Linked DNA regions of Homo sapiens: region 2 is linked to region 1. The links are contacts of gene promoters, found by promoter capture Hi-C in blood cells and fetal thymus (Javierre and others, 2016). All regions are on one chromosome and are shown on one strand. The core of a region is centred on a gene start or on the middle of the fragment in contact, and the rest is flanking DNA. Distances in the headings are between cores, read along the strand shown. Region 1 holds the start of DERL1 (derlin 1). Region 2 has its middle 13 kb from the start of SNTB1.

What was found. Contacts are between HindIII fragments. The CHiCAGO score rates a contact against its expected background, and 5 or more counts as called.
Region 2: a contact is called between a fragment that was not itself captured here and the fragment with the promoter of DERL1 in region 1, in 1 of 17 cell types (M0 macrophages). The highest score is 5.1, in M0 macrophages.

What each region holds. Positions count from the first base shown.
Region 1 is chr8:123,039,136-123,044,948 of GRCh38, forward strand. DERL1 (derlin 1) reads right to left here and starts at 3,167. Exons shown (of 8, transcript NM_024295.6): 1 at 2,835-3,167. The coding sequence starts at 2,987. It also overlaps the pseudogene RNY4P5. RefSeq lists an enhancer at 2,577-3,116. The HindIII fragment of the contact is 6,787 bases long and covers 1-4,546 here.
Region 2 is chr8:120,821,998-120,827,810 of GRCh38, forward strand. No RefSeq gene overlaps it. Among named protein-coding and RNA genes, the nearest start is that of SNTB1, 13 kb to the left of the region's middle. The HindIII fragment of the contact is 1,221 bases long and covers 1,769-2,989 here.

The DNA of each region.
Region 1 (5,813 bases), core at 1,917-4,416:
TTTTCTCTATCTTCACAGCCACACTGATCCAAACCACCATCTCTCTGGCCTCCTAACTGGATTCATCTCTCTGATCTCATCACCTAGCCCTTCCTCCTTCAACCCCCTCCATACACACACAAAGTCCACTCCACAGAATAGTCGGGGCAATCTGTCAGTCCTTTGTTCACAAGGCTCCAAAGACTTCATAGTGCCCTCAAAATAAAGTTCAAACCTCTTAACATGACCTACAAGGCTCAACTATGATCTAGCTTTAACCCACCTTTCCATCTTAGCTTTACTACACCCAGCCCTGGCTATCTCCCTGCTGTCATCTACTAATCCTCACCCTACAGCTGACCCTGTGCCAGCTGGCAACCCAGTCTTCTTCCTGTTCCCAGCTCCTACTTCTGAGCCTTTCACTTACTAGTCCTTCCTGGAAGGTTGTCTCCAGAGCCAGATCTACCCAAAGCTGGCTGGCTGGCTCCTCAGTATTCCAATTTCTTCAAATGTCTTCTCTGAGGCCTTTCTGGGTGGAACACCCTATCAAATATTACACCCCTTAAAACACGTGCCTCTATGTCTTCACAGGCTCTGAAACCTTTTCAGTCCTATTTACTATTGTACCCCAGTGCCCAGCACACAGCAAGTGCCCAATTACTTCCAACAACTCAGTTAATATATAAGCACCTACTACGTCCCAGGCACTATTCCAGGTAACAAGGACAGTGGTGAACGGCTCTCATGGAGCCTTATTCTCTGAGGGGAAGCAGACTAATAAATACCAAAGGGTAATATGTAGCAAGAAAAATGAAGGATAAGGCCAGGCTCAGTGGCTCACGCCTCTAATCCCAGCACTTTGGGAGGCTGAGGCGGGTGGATCACCTGAGGTCAGGAGTTCAAGACCAGTCTGGCCAACATGGCGAAACCCCGTCTCTACTAAAATACAAAAATTAGCTGGGCATGGTGGTGTGCACCTGTAATTCCAGCTACTTGGGAGGCTGAGACAGGAGAACTGCTTGAACCCAGGAGACAGAGGTTGCAGTGAACCAAGATTGCGCCATATACACTCCAGCCTGGGCAACAGAGCGAGACTCCGTCTCCAAAAAAAAGAAAGAAAGAAAGAAAAATGAAGGATAAGGGATAAGGGAGTGGAGTGAAGGACGGGCTATTTTATGTACGGCCATCAGAGAAGGCCTTGTCAACAAGACGGCATTTGGGCAGAGATCTGAAGAAGGTTAGGAGGTAAACAACTGAGCCACGGTTATCTTCCTCAGGCAGAGAAACAACATGTGCAAAGGCCCTGAGGAGAGATCCAGATAAGCACTGAAGTAACAGCAAGGATCTCATTGTGGAGCCTAAGGTACAAGTTGGAGAGTAGTAGGAGATGAGGTCAGAGAAGCAGCAGGGGCCTTGCAGGCCACTGAAAGGACTTGGATTTTACTCATTAAGAAGACATGGTAGGATTCTGGACAGAGGAAAGACAGGACTTGATGTAGGTTTTAAAAGGATCACTCTAGCTGTCTAGAGAAAAGATGGAAAGGAACCAGATTGCAGTGATAATGGCTTGCAATGGAGAATGAAAAGGGATTGTATTCTGGATATATGTCTCAAGTAGAGTCAATAGGATTTGCTGACAGATTGTGGGGTGTGAGAAAAACAAGAAAAATAAAAGATGACTCCGACAATTAACTTCAGCTCCTCTAATAACGGAGTTGCTATTCACTTCTAAGGCAAAGGGGGAAAGGGGATTCAGTTTTGGACACGTTAAGATGAAGATGACTCTTAGTCATCCAAGTCGTGATTTCAAGTAACTGCTGGATGCACAAATCTGGAAATAGGGAGACAGATCTGGACTGAAGATATTTATATTTATATTTCAGAATCTCCAGTTTATAGAAAGTATGTAAAGCCCTGAGGCTGAATGAATGAGACCACCTAAAGCTAGGGAGAGTCTATAGAAAAGGTCCTATAACTGATTCCCAAGGCACATCCTAACATTTAAAAGTCAGGAAGATAAGGAACCAGCAAAGGAAACCAAGAAGTAACACCCAGTGAAGACAGGGAAAGACAAGAAAATGTTATCCATAGGCCAAGTAAAGGGCTGAAATTAATGCCAGATCTTGCTATCTGACCTGCCACTGATTGAAGTTTTAAATCAGAAATTGGTGAATACAGATAACCTTCAGAAAACTGGCACTCTCTTGACAGAAATGTTACTCTGGACTGTTTCCTTCATGCTTAAGAAAATAACAAGGCCTTCCATTTCTGGACAAATGTACTCTTTGCCCATTCCTTCGTACATTCTATTACTACGTGGGGGACACTAAATTAGGTCTAGAGGGAAATGCAGAACAATACACTCGTTCTTTGTATCTCTGACTTTAAATCACTCCTATAGGAAAACCAAAACAAAAAAACTCCATAAACGTGAAAGGAACTCAGCTATAAGTTGGTGAAGTTGACACCTACAGGCCACCCACGTGGGTGACAGAGGGAGGTCAGAGGGCAATGCTCCAGGCGGACCTAATCGCCAGCGTCCAACAGATTGACAACTACCAACGACTAATCTCACTGCTTCCTTCACTGAGTGCGAAGAGCGGGAAGCACAATCTCACTATACCAGTGAAGTCAACCCCTCCCCACCAGGCCAGCCCACAACTCCAGCTATCCAGCACCCCGCTCCAGATCCCAGAGCCTCCCCGGGCCCAAAGGACCCCGCCCTAAACCGCCGGCGCCGGACCCACTACAAATCCCAGCAGGCACCGCGCGCCCGCAACATGCCAGCCTACGCTTAGCCGCCGCTGGGCCTCCTGGGGCCTGTAGTCTCCACGCCCCCCGTCTCCGGTAAGTACCTGAAAGCGATAAAGGAAGGCTTCGGGCCAGAGGAAGAGGTAGGCCGGGCTGATGAGGCCGAGTTTGCCGACCAAGGGCACGGCGACGGTGGCGGCGAACCAATAGCGCGTGATCGCCGGGATGCTCCTGAACCAGTCTCCGATGTCCGACATCTTCGACCCACAGGTAGCCAAGATGCACAAGACCGCCCGACTCCCCGTGCCGACCCCCTCACGACGCGGCCGGCTCCGCGACTGTTAGGTGTCTAGGTGGAAGCCGCCGAAGCCGCGATGCAGAAGGCGGAGACGGGCGGACGTGGCGCCACCGAATTCGGACCAGCGAGGCAGCCTTCTGAGGCGAAACTTCCCCTTCCGGCGACCGCGGACGACGTGACCAGAAGTCCCGCCGCTTAAAGGGTAAGCGCCGATTTTACCGCCCGGCCGAGGCTCGGCGTCCTGGGGGGCGGAGCCAGGTAGAGCGACTACACGACTGGTGGGAAAACAGTGGTTGCCTGGATCAACGGCAAACGCTCCGGCCAGTGGCGAGGCCAAATGCCATTCACCTAGTTCTCAGAGTTTTAATGCGGCTGGGTCCACCTGGAGGGTATTTAAAGGGGACGAAGGCAAACGAAGTGTCTAGTTCCTCGTCTGCTTACTCATTCCACAAGTGTTTGTTGGGCACAGTTCTAGACACTGGGCAGCTGCGGCTGTCAGCGCTGTCGTGGTACCCTCTCTCCTGATCTTAACATCCTCATTGGGATAATTTATAAACAAATAGATAATGAAGTAAGATAATCTCAGAGAGTGATTAGAAAAATAGGAAAATGAAATGAGATGATGAGGTGGAGTGACGGGGTGGGGGTGCGGCAGTGTGAGGACAGATGGCTACCTTAGGTATGAACTGGGCCAGCCAGGCAAGAGATCTGGGGGAAGAATTTTCCATGCACAGAGAAAAGCCGCTCTAACTAGGTTGGAATGTTGGAGGAACTAAAAGCCAAAATGATCCATCTTGTCTAATTCAACTTGTATAAGAAGGAATCTTTAAGAAAAGATACTGGCCAGGCGCGGTGGCTCACGCCTGTAATCCCAGCACTTTGGGAGGCCGAGGCGGGCGGATCACGAGGTCAGGAGTTCGAGACCAGCCTGGCCAACATGATGAAACCCCGTCTCTACTAAAAATACAAAAATTAGCCGGGCATGGTGGAGGGCGCCTGTAGTCCCAGCTACTTGGGAGGCTGAGGCAGGAGAATCGCTTGAACCCGGGAGGTGGAGGTTACAGCGAGCCGAGATTGCACCATTGCACTCCAGCCTGGGGGACAAGAGCCAGACTCCATCTCAAAAAAAAGAAAAAAAGAAAAGATACTGAGTAGAGTTTCCCGTTGTTTTGGGATTTGGGGCCAGCAGTTTAAGATTGCTAAAGTCTTCCAATAAAGAGCACCAGGAACAAACCTGTAGTCAACAAAGTTAGATTTATTAACTTGCTGCAGCAAGGGAGACTGCACTCCAGAGGAACCTCAATGCCTCTCATCAAACGGAAGTGTCATTATTGGGTTATGGGAATGGGGGGATTTTTTGGTAAGAATTAACTGGAGCAGTGTTTGATAGACTCGAAGCAAAGCAGAGCTGTGTGCAGCATCAGGTTAACATCAGACCTGAGTAGGAAGCAGGCTCTTTCCTTGGAAATCTCAAAATTACGACAAATGTGAAACGTTGGGTCTGAAAACTCTATCTAAAGCTTTGTACCTGTATTGAAAATCCTGTGTCAAAGTGACCTGTATGGCTCAGATGCTCTGGACAAGAATGGGATGTTCCATTCACACGGAAAGGATGTCAGACAGCAGAGTTTCCAACATTCCATAATTTTAGAGAATATTTGTCAGCACCATATCCTTGATGTTAATTAATAAAAACAGTTTTTTCATAACAAAAAGGCATTAAATATTCCACAGTGTAATGAGAGTATACAACATTTGGGAACCAATGGATAGCAAATCTACGAAGAACACAGCTGGTGGGAATATAAATTGATACAGCCTTACAAAAAGATAATTTTGATATAAAAGCTAGATATTTATATAAATAACAGATAATACTTGACGATATTGCCTGAGGTTTATTCTGTTTATTTCCCTCTACTACCACCACCATTGTTTTGTACCCACTACTCATAACCAAGGTACAGTGAAAGAAAACAGGGGTTATCTGGCTTAGGTGGAGGGCTAAGGAAAGTTTCTCTGATAAACTTAAAAGTACACGTGCATGAGAAAAGACAAGAACAAGAAAAATGTACACCCAATATCTGGCAGTGTTTATTTCTTTTTTTTTTTTTTTTTTGAGACGGAGTCTTGCTCTGTCGCCCAGGCTGGAGTGCAGTGGCGGGATCTCGGCTCACTGCAAGCTCCGCCTCCCGGGTTCAAGCGATTCTGCTGCCACAGCCTCCCGAGTAGCTGAGACTACAGGCGTCCGCCAGCACGCCCGGCTAATTTTTTGTATTTTTAGTAGAGACGGGGTTTCACCGTGTTAGCCAAGATGGTCTCAATCTCCTGACCTCATGATCTGCCCGCCTCGGCCTCACAAAGTGCTGGGATTACAGGCGTGAGCCACCGCGCCCGGCCTGGCAGTGTTTATTTCTAAGTTGTGCTCTAGAATTCATAGTGAATGCTCTGGAATTCAACTTCGGCCTTTAGAAACACTGAAGTTTAAATCAGAGCAACGGTAGGCCAGGTATGTCTGGTCTTTTCTTGTAACTTTACATTCAAAGGCTTTCTGGCTGGTCCGATGGTAGTGATTTATCAGAACTTATTAACATTAGTGTCACTAAAGTTGGTATACAACCCCCCACTGCTAAATTTGACTGGCTTTTAAAAATATTTATTATTTTTAAATAATATTGAATATTTATTAAATTTATTATTAATTTATTAATAATATTATTTAAATAATTATTTTTTAAAGGCTTTCTCTTTCTACAAAGTCTTAATAATCATTTTAATGACTAAT
Region 2 (5,813 bases), core at 1,129-3,628, 2.2 Mb before region 1:
TAATTGCATCAAAGTGAATTAAATTTCTTAAGTGTGATAATAGTATTGTGGTTGTGAAATGTCTTTGCTCTTAAAGTATATGTGCTGATGTGTTTAGGGGTGACATGATGTCAATAACTGACTTTCAAATGGAGAAAGAAAATAACTCTCTAGGAAATATGGTAAACTATAAACTAACTTTTAAATATAGAGACAGAAACAAAGAGGATGTAACAGCAAGAGAAAGAGATCCAAATGTGGAAAAATTAGCAGTAAGAGAATCTAGTAATGAATAAATGGGTTTATGCTGTATGATTCAACTTTTTGTAGGTTAAATTTTTTTTTTCAAAATAGAGTTGGGGATAATAATGCAGAAACCTGAGCCCCACCTCAAAACATTCTGATGATTGCGATCTTAGTGTCTGAAAATGTAAATTTTATCAACAGGATTCTGATGCAGATAAGATAGCATTTTAAGAAAGATTAAGAAGATACATCATGGAAACTCAAGGCCAAAGACTCTTCAGGATCATATATCCTTGGCTAAAGAAACAATTTCTTTTGCCAAGCCAACACTGAAATTTCCTCTACCAAGGAATCAGTGGTTCTAGATCAGTCAAACCCAAGAAGATAGAGGGTACTCAACAAATATTTAATAAATGGTTGGGCATGTTGTCTCATGTCTGTAATCCCAGCATTTTGGGAGGCCAAGGCGGGATGATTACTTGAGGTCAGAAGTTCAAGACCAGCCTGGGCAACATAGCAAAACCCTGTCTCTACAAAAATAAAATAAAATAAATAAACATTAGCTGGGTGTGGTGGCACAAACCTGTAGTCACAGCTACTTGGGAGGCTGAGTAGAAAGGATCACTTGAGCCCAAGATGTCCAGGCTGCAGTTAGCCATGATCACACCACTGCACTCCAGTCTGGGTGACAGAGTGAGACCCTGTCTCTTAAAAAAAAATATTGCTGGATAATTGTGAATGCTTAGTAGACTAGAAAAACAGAAAGGAACTGATTTAGTGCCCCATGATTGTTACTCAGGTATTTTCAGATACTTTCTCTGTTGTAGTCTTTCCAAGAAACCAGTAAGATATAGAATGATAATTTATTTTTATGTATAATAAAACTCAGGTTGAACAACTGTGAAGTCAAACTACCTAGATATAAATTCCAGTTACTTAATTTACTGACTCTGTAATACTAGGAAAAGTAACTTTTCTAAGCTTCCATTTACTTGGCTTTAAAATAGTGTTTCCAAATTATTTTTATCTCATAGGATTATTTTAAAGATTAAATAAAATCGTGCATGTAAGGCACTTGACACAGGACTTACCTAGAGTAAGTGATCAATAAATATTAACTAGTCTTACTATGTCTGAGATCACTGAGCTAATAAGTGGTAAACAGCCTAAAGTAAATAGCTTAAGACAAGTGGAAAGATTATTTTCTCTATATTTAGTTAAAATAATAGTGTAATGAATATAAATTCACATTGAATTCTTCAGCTATTTCTTTTCTCCCTTTTCCCTTGCCTCCCTCTCTTTCCTAAAACAAACTGAAATTTTTATCCTAAGGCATTACAGTTTCAATGTGTACAGGATGCTGAAGTTTCATAGTAAAGTGCAAAGACTGGCAAACTATTTTCCATGGACTAGCTACTTGATTTCATAAAGTTTCATTGGAACACAACCACACACATTCGTTTACATGTTGTCTATGGCTACCATTCATGCTACAATGGCAGGCAGGGTTGAGTAATCCTGACAGAGACCATAAGGCCTGCAAAGCTTAAAATATTTGTAACTTGACCATTTACAAAAAAAGAATAACACCTGCTCCAATGTCTTAAAATGCTTAGAAAAGGACTGGAGCAACTTTAAAAGCAGGTAAATCTGGAAGTTAGGGTAAGGGGCGCCAGTCTGGCAAATACAGTCAGGTATCACTTAATGATGGGGATATGTATTAAGAAATACATTGTTAGGCAATTTCTTGTGCAAATAGCATAGAAGGTACTTAAACAAATCTAGATGCTGTAGCCTACCACACACCTAGGCTATGGACTAATTCCTAGACTACAAAATTGTATAGCATGTTAGACAATTATAACACAATTGTACGGGATCACTGTCATGTATGTGGTCCTTCCTTGACTGAAACGTCATTAGATGGCTCATAAATGTAATAGACATTCCAGTCTATGCTATGGTGGCTATCATAATTATAAACAAAGGAAATAAAAAAGAGAATCTGAACCAACATTTGAGAGGGCCTGCAATTAACCAGTTTGCCATATCTTCTCATGCAAGCCTCATATCAACTCTGTAAAGCAGAAGTCATCCCAGTTTCATAAATGGAGACTTGGAACACAGAGAGATGAAGAAACCTGCTCAAGGTCACATTAAGTGTGAGTGGAAGGATTGGAATTCAGACTTAAGTTTGACAGAGTCCACATCTTGTCCCCTTTCCACTGGGCTTCAGTCAATTGAAACTCAAATTTTACATTCCTGATTCTCTGAGTCAGGGCCTTTAAAATTATTTTTAAAGGGAAGCCCCCAAGAGGATTAACTTCTCTTCTGAAGAGTGAGTCTGTCAGCCTTACATGGCTATGCTTTAAATTCTGTCCTTTAGGCTTCCTGAAAGGTTAAAAAATTGTGGCTGTTCCTCTTAGTCACCAACCCCAATGCCCCCAAGTCCGATCAGTGTTACATTGCAGTAGAAATTTCAGTAAGATTGCAAAACCTTTTACTGCCTTTTACTTTCTTTCCAGAAAGTTAACCAACTGAAAAATTTGTTTGGGGATATTGGGGATCCCTTCCTTCCTACTCCTCTCTCTCCTTTCTTTTCTTCATTCTCTCTTTTTTTTTAAGGGAGTGTTTCGTTTTGTATTTTCTACAATAAAATCCACTTAGAGTGAACTTAGATTTTGTCACAAAACATCCTTTAAAACCAGTGAGTTCTGAAATTCTTTCAAGGCAAAAATTATTATGATTCTTTGGCAAATGTGGAAGCTTGTAACCGAAGGAGAATGACGGTAGGTACATATTATATTTACATACATCACATATGTGATTATATCAGAATTTTGTTATTTATTTATTTATATTTTTTGAGACAGTGTCTCATTCTGTCACCCAGGCCAGAGTGCAGTGGTGTGATCACGGCTCACTGAGGCCTCTACCTCCTGGGCTCAAGCGATCCTCCCCACTCAGCCTCTTGAGTACCGAGGACTACAGGTGCATGCCACCATGCCCAGCTATTTTTTGTATTTTTTGTATAGATGGGGTTTTGCCAGGTTTCCCAGGCTGGTCTCAAATGCCTGGACTCAAGCAATCTGCTTGCCCCGGCCTCCCAAAGTGCTGAGTTTATAAGCATGAGCCACTGCACCTGGCCAGAATGTTTATTCTTTGCCTTCAAAAGGAAACATGTCCTCTTTCAATTTTCTTGAAACAATCTTCCCTCTAGCCTTCTATTCAGTTTTCCAAATTTTGATAGAGTCATAACTATAGGAGAGATATGTCTCTATTACAAGAAAACAATGCAAGTACCATAACAAATGGCCCCATGTTTGGGGAATAATCAGAAATGGTGAGAGAGATGTGCAAAACTAGGGAGTACAAACTTCACATAAAGGGGCAGCACTGCTTAGCTCCAGCCAGCAATTGCTGCCATTCAGGAAAGCACAGGGTTCAGATCTTCCAATTTTCTATGATTGTCAAGAAATATACTTTTAATTGATTTTTAAAAATTGCTCAAATTGTAAAAAATATCATTTGGCCCCACAAATAAAATAAAAGGCAAGCAAACCAAAAAGACTCTTGCAGACTGGATTTGGTCTTCAGATCATGAATCTGTACCTCCCAATTTAAGTAAGTGAATTGGAGGTCTGGATTTCTGTATGAGTCTCCAGGCTGTTTGCATAGGGCAAGTCTTGCCTCAACACTGTCATCCAGTCTCATGTTCTGATAGAGTGAAGGCCCTGAGTTCCAAGGACCACCCGCCCCTGCTCATACAATTAATGCAACCCTGCAACCCTGCAAAAGAGGCTTCTTGGCAGTGAGCCAATTGGCCTTCCTTCTGCTTCATAGCATGCTCCATTGACCTGCACCAGTGCTCCAACGCTCGGCAGAAATAAGGATGGCAGACACTTTGTTTTCTGCTGTATGATTCCACGTGAGACTAACTGCTTTTATATTAGGTTCTTTCAAAAAGGCAAGAAACAACTATCAGATAGTAATTTTCCACCTTTTTCTGAACTCCCAGTTGTCAAGTGACGAAGACTTCCACAGACTAGCAGTAGAATCAAATGTAAAAAAAACAAAACAACATTATGGAAAAAGCTTTAAAAATGGCACTTGGATAGAGACGAAGTTTGGGTTTACTTTAATCTATAGGGATGCTGGAATTCTCCTGATTTGGTTTGGCCATGTCCCCACCCAACTCTCATCTTGAACTGTAGCTCCCACAATTCCCATGTGTCATGGGAGAGACCTGGTGGGAGGTAATTGAATCATGGGGGCGAGTCTTTCCTGTGCTGTTCTTGTGATAGTGAATAAGTCTCAAGAGATCTGATGGTTTTACAATGGGGAGTTTCCCTGCACAAACTCTCTTCTGCCACCATGAAAGTCAGGCTTTTGTTCTTCCCTCACCTTCTGCCATGATTGTGAGGCCTCCCCAGCCACGTGGAACTGTGAGTTCATTAAACCTCTTTTTCTTTGTAAATTACCCAGTATCAGGCATGTCCTTTTCAGCAGCATGAAAAGGGACTAATACATCTATGCACTTTTAATTTTCTGTAAACATAGTCAACCCAGAGAAAAACATTTCTGGTTAAGCACCTGGCTTTGCTCCCAGAAGTGTTCCTAGTATTCTAGAAATTAACTTTAGCCACAGCAGGCTTAAGACAGGTGCAGGGGTTGAGTTTGGGAAGCAAGAAGACCTGGCTCATAGTAGCCTTGGGAAGTGCAGCTTGACCTCTGGTCATCCTGGAGAGGATGAAATTATGTCTGCATTTCAAGGCTTCAAATCCTAACAATGCTGGGAAACTGGGAAGTTTCCAGGAGAAACAGCCTGCCTCTTTCTTCCTTTCCTAGGTAATTACAAGAAGTGTAAGTTATCCAGCCATTCTCTGGTCTTTTGTTTTTATATTAATTTCTGTTTGAAAATGTTTTCACTTCAAATAGTAATATGATGATGGCCATTGATCTTTAACAATTCTTGGAAATGCAGGCAGGTCAGGTGGTTTTCTAACGAGGACATAAAAGCTTAGCAGAAGGTGTTGGACTTTACCAAGGGTACTATAACTCAGTTTTTCTGAGTCGAACTTCGGTGTTTTTTTTTTTTTTTTTTTTTTCAGTGTCTGGAGAATCACCATTTTACACAATACTGCACCAATTCTGTTGAGGCCATCAACTTTTAAACTTGATTCATAGGTCTGTCATGACTTTGACCTCAATATTATATAAACGTTCCAGTAATTTCAGAAACAATTATTGACTAGTCCATAAACAGCCTGTACTAGACACTTTTCTGGGATTAAAAAATAGGTCTCAGTTTCTGTTGTTAAGAAATGGGCAATTTGCAGTTTAAAAGAAAATATTTAGGTGAAACTCCCAGGAAACAGAGGTAAAACTGAGAAAGTAGGTCTCATAGCATGTGTCAAATGGAGAACTAAGTACTTTATATATGCCATCTGATGTAATCCTTGCAACAACCCTCCCAGGCCACTGTGATTATTCACCTGACAGTGGAAGAAACTATTGAGTAACTTGCCCTAATGATAGAGCTGAGATTCAACCCCACTTCAACCAGAGGTCAAAGTTCTGGAGAGTGT